Linked DNA regions of Homo sapiens: all the other regions are linked to region 3. Evidence: promoter capture Hi-C in 16 types of primary human blood cells and fetal thymus (Javierre and others, 2016). All regions are on one chromosome and are shown on one strand. The core of a region is centred on a gene start or on the middle of the fragment in contact, and the rest is flanking DNA. Distances in the headings are between cores, read along the strand shown. Region 1 has its middle 9.3 kb from the start of ZMAT3. Region 2 overlaps ZMAT3 (zinc finger matrin-type 3). Region 3 holds the start of MFN1 (mitofusin 1). Region 4 overlaps ZMAT3 (zinc finger matrin-type 3). Region 5 overlaps ZMAT3 (zinc finger matrin-type 3). Region 6 overlaps LOC124906307 (a long non-coding RNA gene).

What was found. Contacts are between HindIII fragments. The CHiCAGO score rates a contact against its expected background, and 5 or more counts as called.
Region 1: a contact is called between a fragment that was not itself captured here and the fragment with the promoter of MFN1 in region 3, in 2 of 17 cell types (monocytes and non-activated CD4 T cells). The highest score is 5.5, in monocytes.
Region 2: a contact is called between a fragment that was not itself captured here and the fragment with the promoter of MFN1 in region 3, in 1 of 17 cell types (total CD4 T cells). The highest score is 5.4, in total CD4 T cells.
Region 4: a fragment that was not itself captured here is called in contact with the fragment with the promoter of MFN1 in region 3 in 1 of 17 cell types (naive CD8 T cells); the score reaches 5.2 in naive CD8 T cells.
Region 5: a contact is called between a fragment that was not itself captured here and the fragment with the promoter of MFN1 in region 3, in 7 of 17 cell types (fetal thymus, total B cells, naive CD8 T cells and 4 more). The highest score is 10.7, in fetal thymus.
Region 6: a fragment that was not itself captured here is called in contact with the fragment with the promoter of MFN1 in region 3 in 2 of 17 cell types (non-activated CD4 T cells and total B cells); the score reaches 5.2 in non-activated CD4 T cells.

Annotation. Positions count from the first base shown.
Region 1 is chr3:179,079,179-179,083,100 of GRCh38, reverse strand. No RefSeq gene overlaps it. Among named protein-coding and RNA genes, the nearest start is that of ZMAT3, 9.3 kb to the right of the region's middle. The HindIII fragment of the contact is 2,260 bases long and covers 512-2,771 here.
Region 2 is chr3:179,054,325-179,058,075 of GRCh38, reverse strand. The region is part of intron 2 of ZMAT3 (zinc finger matrin-type 3); the gene reads left to right. Among named protein-coding and RNA genes, the nearest start is that of ZMAT3, 16 kb to the left of the region's middle. The HindIII fragment of the contact is 4,552 bases long and covers 119-3,751 here.
Region 3 is chr3:179,346,146-179,349,704 of GRCh38, reverse strand. MFN1 (mitofusin 1) reads right to left here and starts at 1,996. Exons shown (of 18, transcript NM_033540.3): 1 at 1,895-1,996; 2 at 742-860. The coding sequence starts at 853. RefSeq lists enhancers at 1,205-1,424, 1,758-2,287 and a silencer at 1,545-1,704. The HindIII fragment of the contact is 3,693 bases long and covers 1-2,630 here.
Region 4 is chr3:179,037,540-179,041,168 of GRCh38, reverse strand. All of the region lies in intron 2 of ZMAT3 (zinc finger matrin-type 3), which reads left to right. Among named protein-coding and RNA genes, the nearest start is that of ZMAT3, 32 kb to the left of the region's middle. The HindIII fragment of the contact is 2,034 bases long and covers 1,233-3,266 here.
Region 5 is chr3:179,017,709-179,021,770 of GRCh38, reverse strand. It overlaps ZMAT3 (zinc finger matrin-type 3), which reads left to right. Exons shown (of 6, transcript NM_022470.4): 6 at 1-4,062. Among named protein-coding and RNA genes, the nearest start is that of ZMAT3, 52 kb to the left of the region's middle. The HindIII fragment of the contact is 3,871 bases long and covers 834-4,062 here.
Region 6 is chr3:179,000,762-179,004,860 of GRCh38, reverse strand. LOC124906307 (a long non-coding RNA gene) reads left to right here. Exons shown (of 3, transcript XR_007096179.1): 1 at 1-800. Among named protein-coding and RNA genes, the nearest start is that of ZMAT3, 69 kb to the left of the region's middle. The HindIII fragment of the contact is 1,079 bases long and covers 1,359-2,437 here.

The DNA of each region.
Region 1 (3,922 bases), core at 392-2,891, 270 kb after region 3:
CTCTGTTTGCCCTAAGAAAGAAACAACTCCTAAAGAGCAAGAGAGACTCCAGGCAGCATCTGAGTCCTCACTTCCAGGTTCCCAGCTGCCTTCCCTATAGTAGGGCTACTAGAGAATCTCCAGGGTCTTTCCATTCCTTTGGACCAAATCAATTTGAGTGTGTTTCTGTCATTGTCACAAAAAACATACATATTGAATAACTAGAAGATTTATAGCAACATTCTAATCTCCCAAGGAAAGACAAATCAATATTGAGCTTCTACTACATGTCAGGTACTGGAAATACATTGTTTTTTCAACCTAACAATCCTATGAAGCTGGTCTTATTTTCTGCATTTTAGATTAGGGAAGTGAAGTTCCATGCTAAGTCAGAAGGCCTTAAGTACCTGCATTCAAATTTGAATTCAGATGCTCAAATTCCAAAGTTTGTAATCCTTCCAATGAGTCACATTGCCTTAAATTCACTGTGATCTATGCTTTGCTACTCAAAGTGTGACATCACCTGGAAGCTTGTTAGAAATGCAGAATCACAATCCCAACGTCAGACTACTGAGACATTATCTGTACTTTAAAAAGATTGCCAGGTGATTCGCATGCATGTTCAAGTCTGAGAAGCTCTGATCTAGTAGAAACAAAGGTACAGGGAGATGTAAGCTGAATAACTTTGAACGGTAACCTAACATTTCAGAATCATCTCTAAAATAAGTAAAATAATATCTACCTCACTGGAATTATTGTGACTGAGAAAAGAAAAATATCTCAGAGCAGTCTGAGCTATGCAAGGTGTACAAAACTTATTAGGCCAAGAACAACATGAATATGGGACTTCAGTCATTCATGCGCTAACCCCCTTGTGCCTGGGGCAGTTATTTAAAGGCATTTGTTCCTGACTAGCTGCCTCACTCACTATCTCAATGTTCTGGAATTTGTGTTACAAAGAACAATGTATAGTCAAACAACAGCTTAAAATTTTTTTTTAGAGATGGTGTCTTGCTATGTTGCCCAGGCTGCTTTCAAACTCTTGGCCTCAAGGGATTCTGCCACTTCAGCCTCCCGAGTAGCTGAGATTATAGATGTGAGCCACTTCACTGGCTCTCATGTTTTGTAATGTAAATTCTTGGTAAACAACTTAGGAACTGCCTCTTCTGCTTTATAAGCCTACTTGTAACTGCTGCTAATTGGAACATATATTCAGGGCAACATGAATCTCTGCTCCCAGGTTGCAATCCTCAAACTTGCCCCAATTAAACTCTCTACTTATATTAAATTTGCATCATTTTTTTCTTTAGGTCAACATGAGGATGATATGAGCTAGGGTATAAAAGCCCTGGCTAGAGTACCTAGCTAGGGTATAGTGCCTGGCATAGTAGGCTCTTACTGTAGTATCCTTACATTCCAACATTAAATAAATGTATCATTCTTCTCGTTGTTGGACAGCACTGATAAACACATACACAAAATGATGCAGATAAGAATGTATGTATGCATAATGAACAAGCATTTCCTCAAAATAGTATTGTGACTGCAAGCGTAAAAGGTCAAAGGGAAATATGGTTTGATTTTCTTTGTCATAATGGGTATACAAAATTAAGTTCACACTAGCGATGTCAATGGCAAAGCAACAATGAAAGCTAACCAATTTGAATAAGAGACACAGAATTAAAACAAAAGTTAACTCTAGTAATTTTAGAAGTAGCAGAGAAGTTGTGTAGGTTGAGAGAGGGAAAAGAATATTGGATCAGAAAAGGAATACAGTTTTTAGGAAAGTTGCTAATTATTTCTACTGCTTTCAGATCATAAGACCTAAATTGGATAATCATATAACTCACAGGATACAGAAAAGAAATGTGATTGCTATTGTATTAAAAATATTCATTTTCTCTCTTGTATATTGATAGACCTGTCCACAAGGAAGAGTGTAGAATTTTAGCAATAGTACAAGTAGACAATAAAGTATTTTAAACACTTGAATATAATTCAAGACTTTGGTAATTTTTCTCTATGCCAGAAATATTACATAAAAGAAAATGCTTTTTTTTTTAGAATTTCATTAAATATTGTACATACAATGAAGAAAATCACAAAATGTTAGTGAAGAGCATGAAAGTCTTCAATCATTGTACAGTGGTAGGAAAGAGAATAGTGTAAAATTTTAACTTATCCACAAATGTATGTATAGATTTGACAAAATTCAATTGAAATCGCAATGGAAGTTGAGGAATTTGACAATGTGATTCTAAAGTTAATCAAGAAGTATAAACAACAAATACTAAGCAAGGAAAGTAAAAATAAAACAAACAAAAAACTAGGAATGAGAGATACACATTTTTAACGAAGTAATCTGTATACATAGTTTAAAGAGTCACAAAAAGGTAGGGGGACTTATATTAATCTCCGCCTAAAAAATTACCCCAAGCTGGCTGGGCACAGTGGCTCACGCCTGTAATCCCAGCACTTTGGGAGGCCGAGATGGGTGGATTGCCCGAGGTCAGGAGTTCAAGACCAGTCTGGCCAACATGGTGAAACCCTGTCTCTAATAAAAATACAAAAAAATTAGCTGGAAGTGGTGGCGGGTGCCTGTAATCCCAGCTACTGGGGAGGCTGAGGCAGAGGAATTGCCTCTGCTGAGGCAGAGATGGAGGTTGCAGTGAGCCGAGATCGCTCCATCGCACTCCAGTCTAGGTGACAGAGCGAGACACCGTCTCAAAAAACAAACAACCCCCCACCAAAAAAAAACCAAAAAACAAAAAACCCCAAAATTACCCTAAGCTTAGCAGTTTATAACAACATTCATTACCTCACATGGTCTCTGTGGTTAGGTCTCTGGGACTGATTTAATTGGATGGTTCTGATTCAGGGTCTCTCATGAGGTTGCAGTCAAGTCAGGAGGCGGCCATCTAAAGGCTTGACTGGAACTTGGACGATCTACTTCTAAGGTCACATGCCATGTGGGCCCCTCCAGAGGGCAGTTTCAGTGAGGCAAGGGTCTCTAAAAGAGCAAGCAGTTCGTCTTCACAAGTAGCTCTTTTAATAGGTTCACATTCTGATCTTTTAGGAGCAAAAATTTCCAGAAGCAAGTAACGAAGTTTTGTTCTGCTTGTTCTAGTTTTGTTAAACACAGGTACGGGAAAGTATGGCTGGTCTCAGAATCATTTAACAGAAGATGGGAAACTATGTTTGGTTTTAACATTGTTCAGCACAGGAGCAGGGTATTATGTTGGCTTCTTTCTCAGATCTACGAAGGGAGGTATGGGATACTTGGCATATATGCACCCAGGAGGGACTGGTGACTGCAACTTTAGGGTTAGAATAGACTTCACAGAAGAGGTGTCATAGAAGCCGAGACCCATAGGATGAGTCAAACTTCCTTTCCTTATCTGTCTCTCTCTTTCTTGTCTTGTCTTGTCTTGCTTTGTCACCGAGGCTGGAGTGCAGTGACCCAATCTCAGTTTACTGCAGCTTCAACCTCCTGGGTGCAAGCAATCCTCCCTCCGTCACCTCCTGAGTGTCTAGGTCTACAGGTGCATCCCATCATGCCTGCCTAATTTTGTTCATTTTTTGTAGAGATGAAGTGTCACTATATTGCCCAGGCTGGTTTCAAACTCCTGGGCTCAAGGCCTTCTCCTGCCCCGGCCTCCAAAGTGCTGGGACTACAGGCATAAGCCACCATGCGTGGCCTAAAATTTCTGTAAGTAAAAAAATATTGGCCGGGTGCGGTGGCTCATGCCTGTCATCCCAGCACTTTGGGGGCTGGGACAGGGGGATCATCTGAGCTTAGGAGTTTGAGACCAGCCTGGCCAACATGGTGAAACCCCGTCTCTACTAAAAATACAAAAAATTAGCTGAGTGTGGTGGTGGGTGCCTGTAATCTCAGCTACTCAGGAGGCTGAGGCAGGAGAATCGTTTGAACCCTGGGGGTAGG
Region 2 (3,751 bases), core at 1,145-3,644, 290 kb after region 3:
CCTTACTCAGGTATACCACGGGTTGCAAGCTCATCCCTCGGACCTGTGTAAGGACTCCTAGAGCTATTCCTGTTTTTTCTGTGACATATAAAGAAAAATCTTGTCCTGTTGGCAAGCTTAACACTGGGACTTGGGTTAGGGCCTTCGTTAGGTCCTAGAAAGCTACTTCCGCTTCAGGTGTCCATCTTACTAAATGGGTATTGGCTTTCTGAGTTTCCTTAATTAGTGTATAGAATGTTCTGGGTATTTCACCGTACCTGGGAATCCATATTCGGCAGAAACCCGTTAAGGAACCCTATTAGTTGCTTTAGGGTTTTGGGATGAGGATAAGCCAGTATAGGCTGGATACGTTCCTCACTGAGGGCCCTGGTGCCTTTGGATAATTTTAGCCGTAAGTATTTAACCTGCTGTGAGCAGAGCTGAGCCTTTGGTTTGGAAACCTTGTAGCCACAGGTAGTGAGGAAATTTAAGAGTGCTTGGGTGGCTTGATGGCACAAGGTTTCTGAATGGGCAGCTAAAAGTAAATCATCCACGTACCGAAGGACAGGAGTGTCCAGGTATTATGAGAATTGGCTCAAGTCTTGGGCTAATGCCTGGCCAGATAGATGGGGGCTATCCCTCAACCCTTAGGGTAAAACAGTCCAGGTGAGTTGAGACACTGGGTTCCAAGGATCTTCAAAAGCAAACAAGAATTGACAGTCAGGATGTACAGGGATGCAAAAAAGGCATCCTTAAGGTCCAGGACTGTAAACCACTCTGCTTCCTCTGGTATTTGGGAAAGCAGAGTATAAGGGTTAGGTACAGCTGGGTATAGAGGGACAGCAGCCTCATTGATAATCCTGAGATCTTGCACTAACTTCCACTGTCTGTTGGGTTTCTGTACTCCTAAAATTGGAGTATTGCAGGGGCTATTGCATGGTTTTACTAGGCCTTGGGCTTTTAGGTCCTTAACAATCTTTTGGAGTCCTTGTTGGGCCTCGGGTCTAAGGGGGTACTGCTTTTGGTAGGGAAAGGACGCGGAATCCTTTAGTTTAACTTGAACTGGACAGGCATTCTTTGCTCATCCATATTGTCCTTTTGTTGCCCAGACTTCAGGATTAATTCCTTCCTCAAGCTGGGGACAACAAATGGGTGTTCCTTCTCCTATGTTCAGGTGTATAATGGCCCCTGCTTTTGCTAGAATGTCTCTCCCTAACAAAGGAGTGGGGCTTTCAGGCATAATTAGAAAAGCATGTGAAAAGAGTAAAGTTCCCCATCACAACTTAGTGGCTGGGAGAAGTATCTAGTGACTGGCTGTCCTAGGACCCCTTGGATAGTGACAGATCTGGAGGACAGTTGTCTGGGACAGGAGAGTAAGACTGAGAAGGCTGCGCCAGTGTCCAGGAGACAGTTAACCTCCTGGCTCTCAATGGTCAAGCATACCCGGGGCTCTGTGAGGGTGATGGCATGGGCTGGCGCTCGCCCCGGGCACCCTCAGTCCTGCTGCTGGATCATCTGGTTAATGGCTTCTGACTCAGAGTATCTTCATCCCCTGGGGCAGTGGGCCTTCCAGTGATTCCCTTGACGTAAGGGGCATGGACAAGGGGGCGGCTTATTTCTACTTGGATAATCTTTTTTAAAGTGTCCTTGTAGACCGCACTGGAAGCCAGCCCTATTAGGCATTTGATTTGCCCAGCTTTTCCCTTTTGCAGAGCCTCCAAAGTCTGCTTGCCTGAGGGCCATGACTAAAGTAGTGGACCCCCCCTTTTTTTTTTATCCCGTTTGTCCCGTTTCGCCTGCTCCTCCTGATCTCTATTATAAAAAACTGAGGATGCCAAGTTAAATAGGGTTTCTAAGTTCTGCTCCGGGCCTAAGGCAGACTTTTGAAGTTTTTTCTAATGTCTGCAGCTGACTGAGTGATAAACTTATCCTTTAAGATTAGTTGGCCTTCAATAGAGTCAGGTGACAGGGAGGTATGCTTCCTCAATGCCTCCCTTAGTCTGTCCAGAAAAGCAGTAGGATTTTCTTCCTTTCCCTGTGTTATAGTGGACATCATTGAGTAATTCATAGGCTTCTTCCTAGTTTTCCTCAGTCCTTCTAGCACGCAAGTTAGCAAATGTTTGTGGCACCAATCTCCATGTTCTGATTCTGTGTCCCAATGAGGGTCTACACTGGGAACTGCCTGCTGGCCTGTGGGAGTTGTTCTTTCCTCTGTTGTCATCCTATTGTTGACCTGACTGAGATACCAAAGATCGCCAAACTCTCGGGCTGCAGTTACAGCGGCACTTCTCTCATTTGGGGTTAGTGTCTGATTTAGTAGTAACATTATATCTCTCCATGTCAGATCAAAGGATTGTCCTAACCCTTGTAAAACATCAATATAGCCGTCAGGGTTATCTGAGAATTTACCTAGGTCTATTTTAATTTGCTTTAAGTCTGAGAGAGAAAAAGGTACAGGCACTCTGGCTGGGCCGAATTCTCCTCCTCTCACTGCTTGGAGGGGGCATAATCGGGGAATATTGGCACTCTTTGGTTCATTGTTTACCCCTTTGTCTATCTCCTTTTGGACCGTTTGGGTTAAAGGGGGGTCCTTATTAGTTGAGGAAGGAGTCGGGGAGGGGACGCTGGGGTAGGGAGGTGGACTCTGAGGGCTTCCTGTAGGGCATAAACCACACTTTTTACATAATTGTGAGTTGTCTCTTAATGAAAAGAAAGTTTGCACATATGGCACTTCACTCCATTTGCCCTCCTTTCTACAGAAGAGGTCTAGCTGTAAGATGATGTTATAATTTATACTTCCCTCAGGAAGCCAGGTTTCTCTCCCTTGAAGAGGATATTGTGGCCAGGCGGTACTGCAGAAGAATATAAATCGTTTCTTTCTTAGCGTCTGAGTGTCACATTGGTCCCAATTCTCCAGAATACATCTTAGGGGCGTTTTTGCCTTGGGGGGAATGTTTCCCATCGCTTTGGAGGTCCCTTTGTGGTTGCCAAAATGTTACTGGGGGGTCCTTGCTCCCAGAGCTCCCAAGATGGCGGCGGGCCACTTCCAAGATGGTGGCAAGCCTCGTGTTCTCTGACCTGGGGTTCTTGGCCTCACGGATTCCAAGGAATGGAATCTTGGGCCATGTGGTGAGTATTATAGCTCTATTAGAAGCCGTGGGTCATGGAAGAGAACCATGGAACCCAGTGACTAGTGTTCAGCTCAATTAGGATGAACCCGGGCACTTAGCCGTGTGGGAACAATGGCAAGCCTTTAGCCCAATTGGGAGCAGCAATGGGCGCCTCGCTGGATCAGGAGCACAGTGGACACCCTGCTGGATCCGGAGGCATGGAAGTCGCCGGCGGGTCTGCGATGGCGGCAAGCAGCAGTGTTGGATGGTGAGCGAAAGCTCTGCTCCAGCCTTAGCAAACACGGACCAGAAGAATGCAGTTGCAAGATTTAATAGAGTGAAATAGAGTGAGAACAGAGCTCCCATACAAAGGGAGGGGACCCAAAGAGGGTAGCCTCATATTGAATTTTTTAATTTTTAAATTTTAATGTTACATTTCAAACATTAACATTTTACATAATTACAGTACAATTGTCAAAATCAGGAAATTAACACAGATTTAAATAAATAAGACTTCCAGATTTTTTATTCTCAATTCATAGCATCTGTTTTATAGGATATTAAGAACCTGAAATCGCGGACTTTGAGGTCAGACTAGTATTTGATGTTGTGGTCTTACTACTCGCTAGATGTATGATATCGAAAACATTTCCTAACCCTTC
Region 3 (3,559 bases), core at 747-3,246:
AACCCTGTCTCTACTAAAAACACAAAAATTAGTCAGGCATGGTGGCACGTGCACTGTAGTCCCATTTACTTGGGAGGCTGAGGCAGAAGAATCGCTTGAACCCAGGAAGTGGAGGCTGCAGTGAGCCAAGAACATGCCACTGCACTCCAGCCTGGGCAACAAGACAAGACTCTGTCTCAAAAAAAAAAAAAAGAAGTATTCCCTAGTAAGACATGACATTCCTCATCACCTTTAACAGTTATGAAACTCCTTTTTCCCCCTTTCCACTGCAATTCAGCCTCATTTGAGAGAATGAGATATGTCTGAGGTCTTGGCTTAACTGCTAAATTGGGGAGGAGACAAGTATAATGGTTAAATGTGGACTGCCTGATTTTTTGTCTGGGCACTTATTAGCTGTGTGATCTTGGGCAAACTGTTTAACTTTTCTTTGACTTCGTCTCTTCATCTTTAAAATGACAGATGGTGGTGATGAAAATTAAATGAACTATTAACATAGCTATTTCTCATCACCTAGTGGTGATGAAAATTAAATGAGCTATTAATATACTAAAGTTCTTAGTTGTTATTAATACCATTTAATTTTCCCCTTCTGGAGGTTAGAAAGGGGTTTTATTCATTATGGTACTTCTCATAGTATACAGTATAATGCCCTATACATGTGTTCAATAACTAACGTTGAAAGAATAAGCACTTTTATATATTTTCAACAGTAATTACTTTAAAAACTTAAGAAGAACTAACCTTCAACAAAATGTGATCCTTCAGTAACAAACTCCAGTAACTGGTCAAAGATTGCAGTAATCGCCTTCTTAGCCAGCACAAAGTGCTTCAGTGGAGAAACAGGTTCTGCCATTATGCTACTAGAGGGAGATAAAGTTAGAAAAGCACCAACTAAAGTGGATGATAGACATGCAAACTGATGACACACCAGTGACATTCATCAACTCCCCAATGAAATAAATTATGCTGGCAAAATGTTTTTAGGTAATTCTTTTTTGGGAGTGTTCTAGTCAGACAGTTAGAGACGACTTTTGAATGATATTTCACTAAAATAAGTGAAATCTATTAGCCAAAATCTTGGTTGCAATTTCTACTCAATTTCCCTTTGGTGAAGACGAAACTAATTGTGACTAAGTTTGTCACTGCATGTGACTCTAAAGTACATCAGGGAACAGGGTTAGTGAGGCGAAGCCAAATTCACACACAATAAGGAAGTTACTAAGTTTCTCAACCTGAAGCTCTAGGTGAGTAGGAGTGGATATGCAGAGTGAGGAAATAAAATTCTAAGATCACAATGTGAGGCTGACATTTAGAAAGGTAAGGCTTCAAGAGGGCATTAACGCTTCCAGCCAAAGTACCAGAAACTTCAAGGACTATAAGTTTAAGAAAGCATAGGTGGTTTCTCAAGAAAAAGACACCAAAGACAAACAATCACGGTCTAATCCTGGTGTGTACATGGAAAGGAACAGTGGCCATAAAGAAGGCGGATTCTTCCAGAGAGTCAAGAAATGACCGCGCGAAGGAGCTGCGTGGGAAAAGCCGGGTGGGGGTAACGCCCCGGTCCGGCCGGTGTGAACACCTGCCTTAGAAAAGGCCTCCCACCTTCCCACACCGGGCGCAGGAGTCAGGGCCAGAGCCCACCCCCGCCCCGCGCACGACCGTCTAGGTCCGGATCCCCCAATCCCACCCCCGAGCACGGCCTCGTGGGCTCCGTGGGCTCGACTCGGCCGCCAGCCCCGTTCGCCCGACAGCTGGCTCTCTCCTTTCCCACAGGACCGCGGCGGGCGGCGCCTCGTCACACAACGCTGCATGCACGACTCCCGCCCCCGGTCCCCAGTCGCTCGAAGGTCACTCCGAGCGTCGCAAACGTGCTGTCGAGGCAGCCGGCACTCACAGTCTCCGCTCCAACTATCACCCGGCAACAGCAACTCGGCCACAGATGCCAAACTGCCTCATCTTCCCGAGAAGTTAAAGGCGGAGAGGAGGCAGGGGGAGTGGCAAAGGGCGGTCACTTCCGGCCTCTTGCCTCCTCTGTTCTGTTTGGCTCCGTGGCCGGAAGCGCATCTATGCCAGGCGCCATTTTCCTTAAGGGCAGAAGGCAAGGTTTGTTGTGGGCAGAGACTGCTACCAGGAGAGTGGTTTTCCGTTCCCCCTTCCAACTTCTTCCCCTCCCTTCTCCCCTCAAAGTGTCCAAGTATCTGCCCAGCCTAGGCTTAGCTAGCTTCCAATGATGGTGGTGGCTGACGCCTATAATCCCAGCACTTTGGGAGACCGAAGGGGTGGGATATCTCTTAAGCCCAGGAGTTCGAGACTAGGCTGGGCAACATAGGGAGGCGCCCCCCCCCCCGCCCCCGACCCTCTTCCTCCTCCCCGTCTCTACAAAATTAAAAAATGAAAAATTAAAAAAATTTTAAAAACTTAGCGAGGCGTGGTGGCACACACCTGTGGTCCCAGCTACTTCGGAGACTGAGGCGGGGGGATTGTTTGGGCCCGGGGCTGCAGCGAACTGTGATTTATCGTGCCACTGCACTCCAGCCTGGGCAAGAGAGCGAGACATTTTTTCAAATAAATAAATAAATAAATAAAAGAAAAGAAATCCAGATCGTATTACTTTCCGAACTTAAAAAGCTTTCCAGGCCGGGCGGGGTGGCTCACGCCTGTAATCCCAGCACTTTGGGAGGCCGAGGCGGGCGGATCACAAGGTCAGGAGATCGGGAGCATCCTGGCTAACACGGTGAACGCCCGTCTCTACTAAAAATACAAGAAGTAGCCGGGCGTGGTGGTGGCGGGCGCCTGTAGTTCCAGCTACTCAGGAGCCTGAGGCAGAGAATTGCTTGAACCCGGGAGGCGGAGGTTACAGTGAGCCGAGATCGCGCCACTGCACTCCAGCCTGGGCGACAGAGCCAGACTCCATCTCAAAAAAAAAAAAAAAAAAAAAAAAAAAAAAAAAAAAGCTTTCCAACAGCTTGCCATTATACTTAAAATTAAAGCTTCGGATGGTAACCGCCCAAGGAAAGCCTTCACCTTGCCCGCTGACTAGCCAGAACTGATACAAGACAGGGGGATTGCAAATAAAGACTTAGTCACGCAAAGCCGGCTGTATGGGAGACTGGAGTTTTATTATTACTGAAATCAGTCTCCCCGAGCAGCACTGGGGAGCAGAATTTTTAAGGACAATTTGGTGGGTTGGGGGAGGCCACTGAGCCAGGAGTGCTGATTGGTCAGGGATGAAATCGCAGGGAGTGGAAGCTGTCTTTCTGCACGAGTCAGTTCCTGGGTTGGGGGACACTAGGTCAGATGAGCCAGTTTATCGGTCTGGGTCGTGCCAGCTAATCCATCAGTTCTGAGCATAGGTAGTCTCAAAGGGAACATTTACTCTGTTTGAATTTTAAAAATCATGATGGTATCCTTTTATTAGTTCTGTACTTAATAATTATATTTAATATAATTACTGCATTTTAAAGCAAGAGTGACATATTACAGGCTATAAATTATAGCACGGTAATTAAATGTTTAATATAGTAAGTAATAAGAAATTTAATCCATTGCTTTTGTGTGT
Region 4 (3,629 bases), core at 1,000-3,499, 310 kb after region 3:
TCTGTCTAATATTGACAGTGGGATGTTAAAGTCTCCTATTATTATTGTGTGGGAGTCTAAGTCTCTTTGTGGGTCTCTGAGGACTTGCTTTATGAATCTGGGTGCTCCTGTATTGGGTGCATATATATTTAGGATAGTTAGCTCTTCTCATTGAATTGATCCCTTTACCATTATGTAATGCCCTTCTTTGTCTCTTTTGATCTTTGTTGATTTAAAGTCTGTTTTATCGGAGAGTAGGATTGTTACCCCTGCTTTTTTTTTTTTTTTGCTTTCCATTTGCTTGGTAGATCTTCCTCCATCCCTTTATTTTGAGCCTCTGTGTGTCTTTGCACATGAGATGGGTCTCCTGAATACAGCACACTGATGGGTTGTGACTCTTTATCCAATTTGCCAGTCTGTGTCTTTTAATTGGGGCATTTAGCTCATTTACATTTAAGGTTAGTATTGTTATGTGTGAATTTGATCCTGTCATGATGTTTGCTGGTTGTTTTGCCCATTAATTGATGCAGTTTTTTCATAGCATCGATGGTCTTTATAATTTGGCAGTTTTTGCAGTGGTTGTTACCGGTTGTTTCTATGTTTAGTGCTTCCTTCAGGAACTCTTGTAAGGCAGGCCTGGTGGTGACAAAATCTCTCAGCATTTGCTTGTCTGTAAAGGATTTCATTTCTCCTTCACTTATGAAGCTTAGTTTGGCTGGATATGAAATTCTGGGTTGAAAATTCTTTTCTTTAAGGAAGTTGAATATCGGCCCCCACTCTTTTCTGGCTTGTAGGGTTTCTGCCGAGAGATCCGCTGTTAGTCTGATGGGTTTCCCTTTGTGGGTAACTCGACCTTTCTCTCTGGCTGCCCTTAACATTTTTTCCTTCATTTCAACCGTGGTGAATGTGACAATTACATGTCTTGGGGTTGCTCTTCCCAAGGAGTATCTTTGTGGCATTCCCTGTATTTCCTGAATTTGAATGTTGGCCTGCCTTGCTAGGTTGGGGAAGTTCTCCTGGATAATATCCTGAAGAGTGTTTTCCAACTTGGTTCCATTCTCCCTATCACTTTCAGGTACACCAATCAAACGTAGATTTGGTCTTTTCACATAGTCCCATATTTCTTGGAGGCTTTGTTCATTTCTTTTTACTCTTTTTTTCTAACCATGTCTTCTTGCTTTATTTCATTAATTAATTTGATCTTCAATCACTGATACCCTTTCTTCCACTAGATCGAATTGGCTATTGAAGCTTGTGCATGTGTCACGAAGTTCCCATGCCATGGTTTTCAGCTCCATCAGTCATTTAAGGTCTTCTCTACAGTGTTTATTCTAGTTAGCCATTCGTCTAACCTTTTTTCAAGGTTTTTAGCTTCCTTGCGATGGGTTCGAACATGCTCCTTTAGCTTGGAGAAGTTTGTTATTACTGACCTTCTGAAGTCTACTTCTGTCACCTCGTCAGAGTCATTCTTTGTCCAGCTTTGTTCCATTGCTGGTGAGGAACTATGATCCTTTGGAGAGGAGGCACTCTGATTTTTAGAATTTTCAGCTTTTCTGCTCTGGTTTCTCCCCATCTTTTTGGTTTTATCTACCTTTGGTCTTTGATGTTGGTGACCTACAGATGGGGTTTTGGTGTAGACGTTCTTTTTGTTGATGTTGATGCTATTCCTTTCTGTTTGTTAGTTTTCCTTCTAATAGGTCCCTCAGCTGCAGGTCTGTTGGAGTTTGCTGGAGGTCCACTCCAGACCCGGTTTGCCTGGGTATCACCAGCGGAGGCTGCAGAACAGCAAATATTGCAGAACAGCAAATATTGCTGCCTGATCCTTCCTCCGGAATCTGCATCCCAGAGGGGCACCCATCTATATGAGGTGACTGTTGGCCCTTACTGGGACGTGTCTCCCAGTTAGGCTACATGGAGGTCAAGGAGCCACTTGAAGAGGCAGTCTGTCCATTCTCAGAGCTCAAACACCATGTTGGGAGAACCACTGCTCTCTTCAGAGCTGTCAGAAAGGGACATTGAACTTTGCAGAAGTTGTCTGCTGCCTTTTGTTCAGCTAAGCCCTGCCCACTGAGGTGGAGTCTGGAGGCAGTAGGCCTTGTTGAGCTGTGGTGGGCTCTGCCCAGTTCGAGCTTCCCAGCCACTTTGTTTACCTACTCAAGCCTCAGCAATGGCTGAGGCCCCTCCCCCAGCCAGGCTGCTGCCTTGCAGTTTGATCTCAGACTGCTGCGCTAGCAGTGAGTGAGGCTCTGTGGACGTGGGACCTGCCAAGCCAGGCACGGGAGAGTATCTCCTTGTTTTCCGGTTGCTAAGACCTTGGGAAAAGCGCAGTATTTGGGCAGAAGTGTCCTGTTTTTCCAGGTGCAGTCCGTCACGGCTTCTCTTGGCTAGGAAAGGGAAATCCCCTGACCTCTTGGCTTCCCGGTTGAGGTAACACCCCACCCTGCTTCAGTTCGTCCTCTGTGGGCTGCACCCACTGTACAACCAGTCCCAGTGAGGTGAACCAGGTACCTCAGTTCAAAATGCGGATATCACCCGTCTGCTGCATTGATCACGCTGGGAGCTGCAGACCAGAGCTGTTCCTATTTGGCCATCTTGTATTTTATTTTATTTTTTGAGACAGGGTCTCGCTCTGTCACCCAGCTGGAGTGTAGCATTGCAGTCATGGCTCACTGCAACCTCAACCTTCTGGGTTTAACTGATCCTTCCATCTCAGTGCTCCCAGCAGCTGGGACCATAGGTTTGCACCACCATGCCTGCCTCATTTTTCTTTTTTTAGAGATGGGGTTTTGTCATTTTGCCCAGTTTGGTCTCAAAGTCTTAGACTCAAGTGATCCTTCTGCCTCAGCCTCCCAAAGTGCTGGGATTATAGGCATGAGCCACTGTGCCTGGCCCTAGTTCCATGGTTTTAAATTCCACCTACATACTGATAACTCCTCAGATTCTATCTCTAACCTGACCTCGTTCGTAAACTCCAGGTTGGTCTCTCTTTGGACATCTGAAAGGGATCTCAGACTTAACACAGCAAGTGGGTCTCTTGATGCCCAGCTCTTCCCCCTTTCTCTACATTGCATGGCTGGAGCCATCTCATGCTTCAGCTTTTAGCTGACATGTATCTCCCCAGAAAAGCCTTGTCGGCCCACCCCACTCTCTCCCTGTCCATTATCTATTATATCATCCTGTTTTATTTTTTGCAGAGCAGTTGTCAGTAACTCTTTTTTCTTTGGTTGTGTGTGTGTACATATATATATGTACATGTATATATTCTGTTTATGTCCCCTAGAAAAGCTTCTTGAGGGCAGAGACTTTGCCTTTGTTCACTGTTTTATCTCCTTTTCTTAGAATGGTTGCCAGAACATAGAGGGTAGTCAGTAACTATTTAACCCTGTTATCTTCCGCCAGAGTTGTAGATTCAAATTCTCACCTGTTTTTAGAAGACTTCTAAACCTTCTTAGCCTTGACTTCCTTAGTGCTAATGTTGCAGCTTTTGTAGTTCAGCAAGCGGGAGGAAATGGCACACTGGCTTTTTTTCCCCGTTGCTCAGTGAGCAGGAGGGAGGGTTGCAGTGTAAGGATTCCTTTGGTGCTGCTTCACCAGCCGGAAATCTCTGTGGGTGCTGTGTCCTCTGCCTGGGGCCTCATTCCACCGAGCTC
Region 5 (4,062 bases), core at 1,520-4,019, 330 kb after region 3:
GTATTCCATAAACAGTGTTTTTTCTCTGTTTAAGCAGACTGTTGTTTCTTCTGAGTCAGTGATATGTGATCTTCGTTGGTTTCATTTTGTGAAGCTCAGTCTGTCTCTGTAACATACTTTAGGATTTGCACCTTGTGCTCCCCAGGAATTATGTTAGTGTCCTTTTCTATGCTGTCTTCAAGGATGGACAGAGGCCTAAACCACAACAACAACAAAAATTAGAAAAAAAAATACTTAGATTTCGGTAATCATCCATAGGAACTCATAGCATCAGTCTCTTTTCTCTGTGAATAATATCTTTGTGTAAGTTGTCATAAAAAATCAACGTTAGAAGATGACAATTAGAATTCTTCTTAGGTATTGAGGGTAAGAAGTTGTAAAGAAAGAAAATTCGTGTTTCAACTAAAAGATTGGATTGCATATACCTTTGAAGTGGTTTTGTAAAAAAAGTTCAGTTACTAAACTGAGTGTGCCCTGTAATCCTTTTGAGTGCACTGAAGATGCTTTGAAAATACTTTGTTGGTCTTCACATTGTGCATCATGTCCTGCAACTTGTAAATATGTGCATGTTGTTTATGTTTGTCTGCCTGTCTCTTATTGCACTAAATTCTGCAAGGTGAATAATTTTTTTATACCATTTATTTGGAAAAAGTTCCTCCTCCAACTCTTCTTCACTGACCTTTTAATTAGTTGGTAAACTTAGAAAACCAGGTAGGATTTTTGAAGCCCTGAGTTTAAAAGAAGAATCGTGGCTATTTGACATCATCCTTACATTCCCCTGACTTAAAAAGCTAACAAGAAGCACGAGATCTTCCACCTCATTTTAGAAAGCTTTTCTACAGAACTATATGCTTGCTTATAGCTACCTATCTACAGTTTGAACAGGGAGAAAGGGAGATATGTATGTCTGGTTACATCTTCCTTCACTCTTGAATTGGCTGGGACAGCAAGCAACAACAGTTTGAGGTCCAGTGACCTACGTAAAATGAGTGTCGTTTGTGTCAGGGGACACATGTAACTGTGCAACATGGTATTTTCTACAGGGAGGGCTAGGAAGGGTGGTTTTGGAACCTAACCTACTTTGTGTCTTCATTGTCAGAACTAAGGTTGGAAATGCCCTTTAAAGAACTTGGTGAGGCATATGCTAGGACAATAGAGCTGCTTTAGAAAGAAATTGAGACATGTTTTGTCAGGACAGATAAAAGTTTAATGCAGGCTTTTGAACAGATGTTTTAAAACAAATTTGACCTTACCAACTATTTTTTTCTTCTAGCCAAATCATTGTACAGGAGTTTCATATATGATAAAAAGTGTTTTGTTATTGTTTTTGCTTTCTTGGCAGGGGAGAACCCCTACCATTGTGAGCAGTTACTGTCACTCTGGCTGAATGGACAAATAGCTGTGTAAATAGCTTCTCATAAAACGCTTCTACTGATAGCTGTTTGACTTTTTCTTCCCGTTATGAATGGGAGGAACATTTGTAAACTTCCTTTCTGGGTAGCTACCAAAAAACGTACTGGCTTATGGTCCCATGTGACCTTGTCTCCGTTAAGCCCAGAATCTGAGTGCCTTTAGCAAGTGTTAGCATTTCACAGAGAGAAGAGAGACAGAATTATTGCTATTAATCACCATTCATAAATAGGAGCTTGGAATAACAAAGGTCTGTGTGAATTCTGTTCTACGTCTTTTTTTTCCCTTTTTTAAATAAATGTCAATTTGATATCAAGTAAAACTATTGTCATTATTGATCAGAAACCATACATTCTGAAAATGAATCCAGTTTTCCCAAGCTGGCAGAAGTCAGAGATCATTTTTCACCTTGATCTGTGTTGCGTTTGTACTTAGTGAATGGCAGTGTGGTTGATTGGAAGAGCTTGACACTGATGTTTGGAAAAATTCTTTATTCTAGTGGTCATTTTCAAACTTGTCTTCTGTAGAGAGGGGAAAAATTATGTATTTGCAGCTAAAGCGAAGAGACTGGCACAATAATTATTAATTGTGTTAGTTCATTTCTATATTAAATGAAGCATCTTCACAAATCAGGTTTGAAGCCATTAAAAGCAAAATTTTCCCTAGTTTAATTAATTTAAAATTCTAAATTGCCTGACTACTTAGAATCTTAGAAACGCCCTGCTAGACTGATTTTATTATAGAAATGTTAACATGTTCCTCAACATTTTCTCAAGAAAATTTTCAGACATATATCAAAGTTGAAAAAACTTTGCAGTATAACCACTGCTAGATTCTGCCATCAACATTTGACTATACTTGTATTGCCATGTATCTGTTCATATTCTCTATCCCTCTTTTCATCCATCGATCCATCAGATTTTTTTTTTAAAGAACATTCCAAAGTAAATTTTAGGCAATACACTGCCCTAAATTCTTAGCATGGGTGTCATTAATTAAGGTTTAGTATTCGTTTAAATATCTATTTTGAAAGTGGTGTATGAAGTTGATAATCTGAGCCAATTAACATACTTTTTTTTTTTTCCTCCTGTGGACTTTTGTCTTCCAGTTTCTCTTTTTGTGTGTACTTAGGGTGAGGGAGGACAATTCCTTTCAAACACAAGTTTATTTTAGAATTGGTCATTTTTAAGTGCTTGTCATAAATTTTAAAGTTTCAATATAATTTTTCTTTTCCCCACTTCTGATAATGTATTTTTGCCAAACTATGCAGCTTCTTCAAAAAACTGTAAATTACTGATTGGGGTTTATGAAATCAGCGAATACCTCATTTCAATCTGTTGCTGCTTTTCTCCCTCTTGTCACTTCTCCTTTCACTACTTTCAGCTGCTCTACCAGAAGGTAGAGGGGAGTAAAGGGTCAAACCCCTATATAATTAGCTGTTTTAAACAACTCTAGGAGAGCAGATTAAGTAGCTTAGTAAGTTGAAACTATTAATTTTTCTAAAGAATTTGATTTGAATTCCTTGAGAATTGTAATTATCCACACTTCCTCCAGCTATAATTAGCAGAATTAAAAATGATTGTACTGTACAATGAGTTGTTGAAATTGTAAGCCTTAGTAACCATCTTTAGCTTTATTGTAGTCATGTTTAGAAAAAATTATTTTTACATATGCCTTTATTTTTATGCCCACTTTTTGTGGATAAGATTCTTTAGATAAAATCTAAAGAATTTTAAGTGACTTTCTCCAGGTCATGAAGATTCAATGGGTAGAATTGAATCAGAATTGAAATGTTCCAGATTCATATTCTTGTGTGTGTTTGATAAAATTCATGGCTTCCAAAGTAACTGAACACTTCCTTTGGGCCCTTGGAGGGAAAATCCATATTTTTACTAATTACACTTTTTTTTTTAGACATCTGGCAGTTCTTTGAACTTAAACATATTCTCATGGCCATAGTTCCAAATTAAGCCCGACGCAGTTGCTAAAAATCTTGCTGCACTGTTGAATACTAATAATGCAACATTTATTGGATGTTTTTGCATTTTGATGACCTTCATGATTCATTTATAAGTCTTTGTAAGTGCTTAAGTGACCCCCTCACTAGTGAAAATAATAAATGTTCTATATCATTTATTATTATTTGTGTATTCTCTACATGATATATTTTTTTAAGGAAGAGTAACTCCACATGTCAGAATGAGTGATATTATCCTAGGGCAAAGCGCAAATAGGGCAGTTTGTTTCTACTCTGCAAATATGGCATGTATAGGAACAAAACTCTTTTGGAGTGGCTGGTCATTGTTCTGCCCTCTTTTGGTACCTGAGTACCTTTCTGGGGTTTTGTAAATCGTGTGTCATTTGTAAGAATTTCACGTTAACTCTGCGTTACTTGGTGTTCACCTGTGGTATCCTTGACTGACCATAATGATTTAGTTTGGGTATGATGTGTCTGCTTTGAAATGCCTTACTGGAGTATGTCAGATCCTGCTTTAAAGCATTCCATATATCTGCTGGGACAATAAGTTGCTTCTCCTTGGAAATATGCTCTAGATTCAGAAGCAAAACCGATTTTGCTTTCACCATTAAGGTTGCATTTTAATGCAGTTATTGTTTTAAATTAGAGAATAAAATGTAAAACCAAGGGAGGCT
Region 6 (4,099 bases), core at 649-3,148, 340 kb after region 3:
AACATAATATGTGGGTAATACTGCTGGTTGTTTAGGACCCAAGGGCTCTTCAGTTAGCAGGTGATGTATGCTGCCAGGTCTGGGTCCTTTCCTTCAAGACAGCAGATTCCCCTCTGGCCTAGGATGTGTCTAGAAATGTCATCTGGGAGCTAGGGCTGGAATGGGGATCTCACGATCTTGACTGGTGCCCTTTCCTGCTGTAGCTGAGCTGGTATTCAAGATGCAAGACAAAGTCCTCCCCACTCTTCCCTCTCCTCTCAAGTGGAAGGAAGAGATCTCTTTTGGAGCCTTGAGCTGTTCAACCTGGGTTTAGGGGAGAGGTGATGCCAGCACTGACTTAGTTGCCCTAGTAGGTGTTTCAGTAGGTCACATACTCCCATAGTCCACTGTCTCTGGGCCCTGCTCAGCAGTAGGACTCTCCTATGAGTTGCAGTCCTTGTGGCTAGACTGCCTTTCTAGTTTATTTAGATCTGAGCACTTTAGCCCATGGTGGTGAGGCTTGTGGGAACTCAAGTTCCAACCACTGGGATCAGCGATACCTCTCTGGCTAGGGCTGTTCTAAATGCTCCCTCTGTGGGTGGATGTTGGCTGAGTTTGGTCCAGTTTTCCTTTCAACTGTAAGAAAGGCAGCACTGAGTTCAATGCCTCATAATCGCTGTGCTCTTCCTTTCCCCAGGATACAGAAATGCTCTCTGCACTGCGCTGCCACTGCTGGGGGATGGAGGGATTTTGTGTCAGCAACTCAAGACTGTTTTTTCTACCCTTCGGTGCCTCTTTCAGTGATATGAAGTTAAAACCAGGTACTTTGAATGCTCACCTGATTTTTGGTTCTTATGAAGATGCTTTTTGGTGTGTAGATAGTTGTTAAATTGGTGTCCCTGTCGGGGGGACGATCATTGAAGCCTTCTATTCTGCCATCTTACTCTGCCTCCTATCCTCATTCTGTTTTATCTATATCATTCTTCTTTTATTCCTTCAATGTGAAATAACCTTTAAATAACCTCTAAACTAGACAAAATTGCATTTCCATGAACAAAAACTACATCTTTATGTCTCATTTATAAACTTCCCTGCCAAAAACACATCCTATCTTGTATATTTTTTCTTTATATCTGTATATTGTTTTCTTTATATCTGTGTATATATATAGTTTTCTTTATATCTAATATTTTAAATTATATATATTAACTATAATTTTAACTACTACTAATGAGTAACCCTCATTTCCAGTGAAAAACCAAGAAAGTTAGAAATTTCCATTGTTGTGTACCAGATGGAGAGCCCAGGACAGAGGACAGAGCTGTGATAACAATGCCTGAAGGATTCAACATTTCCCAACTTGCCCAGGAGACCAAGCTTGGCCAGGAAAGATGGGGCCATAGTGGGCTTAGCTCTGTTCTGTAGCCCAGACATTGGTGACACACATATTTCCCCAGGCCTCACCATGGCCACCTGTCTAGACTCCAGAATCTAAAGGCTCAAAATCAAGGACATAAACTCACAGGAAGTTGCATGCAAGGATTTGGGGGAGCCCAGAAACCAGCCCACATAGCTTTAGCACACTGACAAATAATTACCAAAATGTGGGAGCTAAGCAATTTGAATACATGGAGGTATAGTACAAAAACACATAACAGAGGCTGGGAAGAGTGAATGGTAGGGAGAGGGAAGTGGTAGGGAGAAGGGAATGGTAGGGAGAGGGAAACTGGAGAGGATAGAGAGAAGTGGGCTAAAGGGTACAAACATACAGTAAGATATATTTTATATATATATATAATCTATTCTATAATGTCTGATAGCAGAGTAGGATGACTGTATTAGCAAAAGGGTATCATACTCAGGTGGTGGATACTCTAAATACCCTGACTTGATTGCTAATATATACATATAACAAAATTTCTCATGTACCCCATAAATTTGTACAAATACAAAAAATAAAGTCAAAAAATCACAGAAGCAAAAGTTTTATGACTTTAAAACATGTAGTAGAGACAGTATAAATTGGTTTGACCGGTAGAACCATGCAAAAATGCTTAAAATTCTGAAGACATTTCTATTTTATTATACCAACAATTTAAAAACTAGCTGTATTTATCTAAGATTGCTAGTCATGTGAACTTGAAAATCATTTGGACTTATTTACTGAATTTATGAGGGATCATTTATGTCAATTTTGTACCATGTAGACTATATATAAACACAAAAATGTACAAATGTATACATAAAAATGCAGACAAACACAGATTTTATAGATTTGATTTTCAAATTTTGCCGTGAGACAGGTAAAACTCCCTAGTTTAAAAGTACTGTTGGATTAAACTGTGCCTCTGTAAATGTAACAAGTTAAAATTTATCTATGCCACATGGTTTAAGTCCCTACTAAGTTTAAAGGAAACAGGGTAGCAAATTTACTGTCAAACAAAAGAGAATTTAAGCTTTTTCAAGAAAAAGTTTGGGTGTGCATTACAGACACAGAAGAAGTTTAAAAATAGATATCAAGATAACACAAAATCATAGGAATTCATCACATACTTTATAAGGAGACCAATTTTAGTTAGATTCGTAACTTCCAATTTAGTTTCTGTGTTTTTACTGTACCATGGAGCTCAGGGCAGTGAATAGGGCTTACAAGGCTTTTGTAGTTTTCAGGGCCCAGTACTTTATATGTAGAAAGCAGGCTTAGCTGGAAGGCAGAGCACCTAGATCCCCAGAAACCAAGGATCCCATTTTTACACTGAATCCCAGGTGCCCCAGAGCTGAGGCAAAAGGCCAAGAGGGAAATGTCATGGGGCTAGGCTGTGCAACAATTCTACAGTGGACCTCATTGCAAGGACATTTTCTTTGAGGCTGTTGGGAAACCTAATGCCAATTAGCCCACTCCGTGACCAGCCTATCCCCCATGGGAATTTTATACCTTGATAGCAAGTGTTCCTACAGCCTCCAAGTGTCCAAACTGTGCTTTTCTTATCTAAATACTCAAACAATTAGCCTCACTTCAGTAATAACCATTCACTGAACAACTGTCAGCCACCTCTAAAACTGCAGTGACCTATCAGCCATCCAACACCCAAAGGTTAAGTGTTCTTTCACAGTAAAAAGTAACCCCTGGTATTCCTAAAAGCCAAGGAGATTGGGAAACTCAATGCAAAACGGAGCTGAGCTTTAGACCTGAGAGCAGCCTGCCCAGGACTCTTGGGGTTCCATGAGGAATACAGAAGACCCTAATGATATGGACAGGAGACGAGGAAATACTGGGTAGAAGAGGGCAGTTGCCCTGCAAAGGCCCCATCCTCAAGCCTGGATACCTGCTGCCCTAAATGGGAACAGGCATACCTGTTTTCATGTCCAAAAAGTTGTCTTTTCGCCCACCACACCCCGTATTCTATACTCATATAAACCCCAAACCCCTGAATCCAGCAGGAGATAAGCAGACGAACAGAAGAGCAGAAGAGCGGCAGAGAAGGAGAGAAGAGAAGGAATGTCAGGAGGAGTTCAGCTGGGGATGGTCGGAGAATTGGCTGCTGGATGGCCCAATTCTAGGGGAAGATCACCTTCCCACTCCATACACTTTCCAGTTCCCCATCTATCCTGCTGAGAGCCACCTCCACCACCCAATAAAACCCCAAATTCACCATCCTTCAAGTCCATGTGTGTCCCACTTCTTCTGGGATGCTGGACTCTTGTCGGGATACAGAAAGCTGTCACACTGGCCCTCTGCCGTTGTAAAAAGGCAGAGGGTCCACTGGTTAACAATTAAGCTGTCTGTGGATGGCAAGGCTAAAAGAGTGGACTGTAACACATGCCAACTTGGGATCTGGGAGTCACAGACTCCCACTCCTGGACGCTGCTGTGAGGCTGAAGCCCAGTGCTCCAGCTTCTGCACCTGTCCATCTACATGCTCCCCATCCCATAAGGGGTTTGAGCAGCAGCAGCAACCGAATAGACAAGCCACACCCCTGTCACATGTCCTGCGAGGGGGTCAGGGAACTCTCTCATTTCACTAACAAAGGGGTATGTGCTGCTTCTTTCTGTGTTCTTCAAGCAGTCTCAGGGCCACCAGAAGTCCCCTCTAGATCTCTTCATGTGGTATTGAATGTCA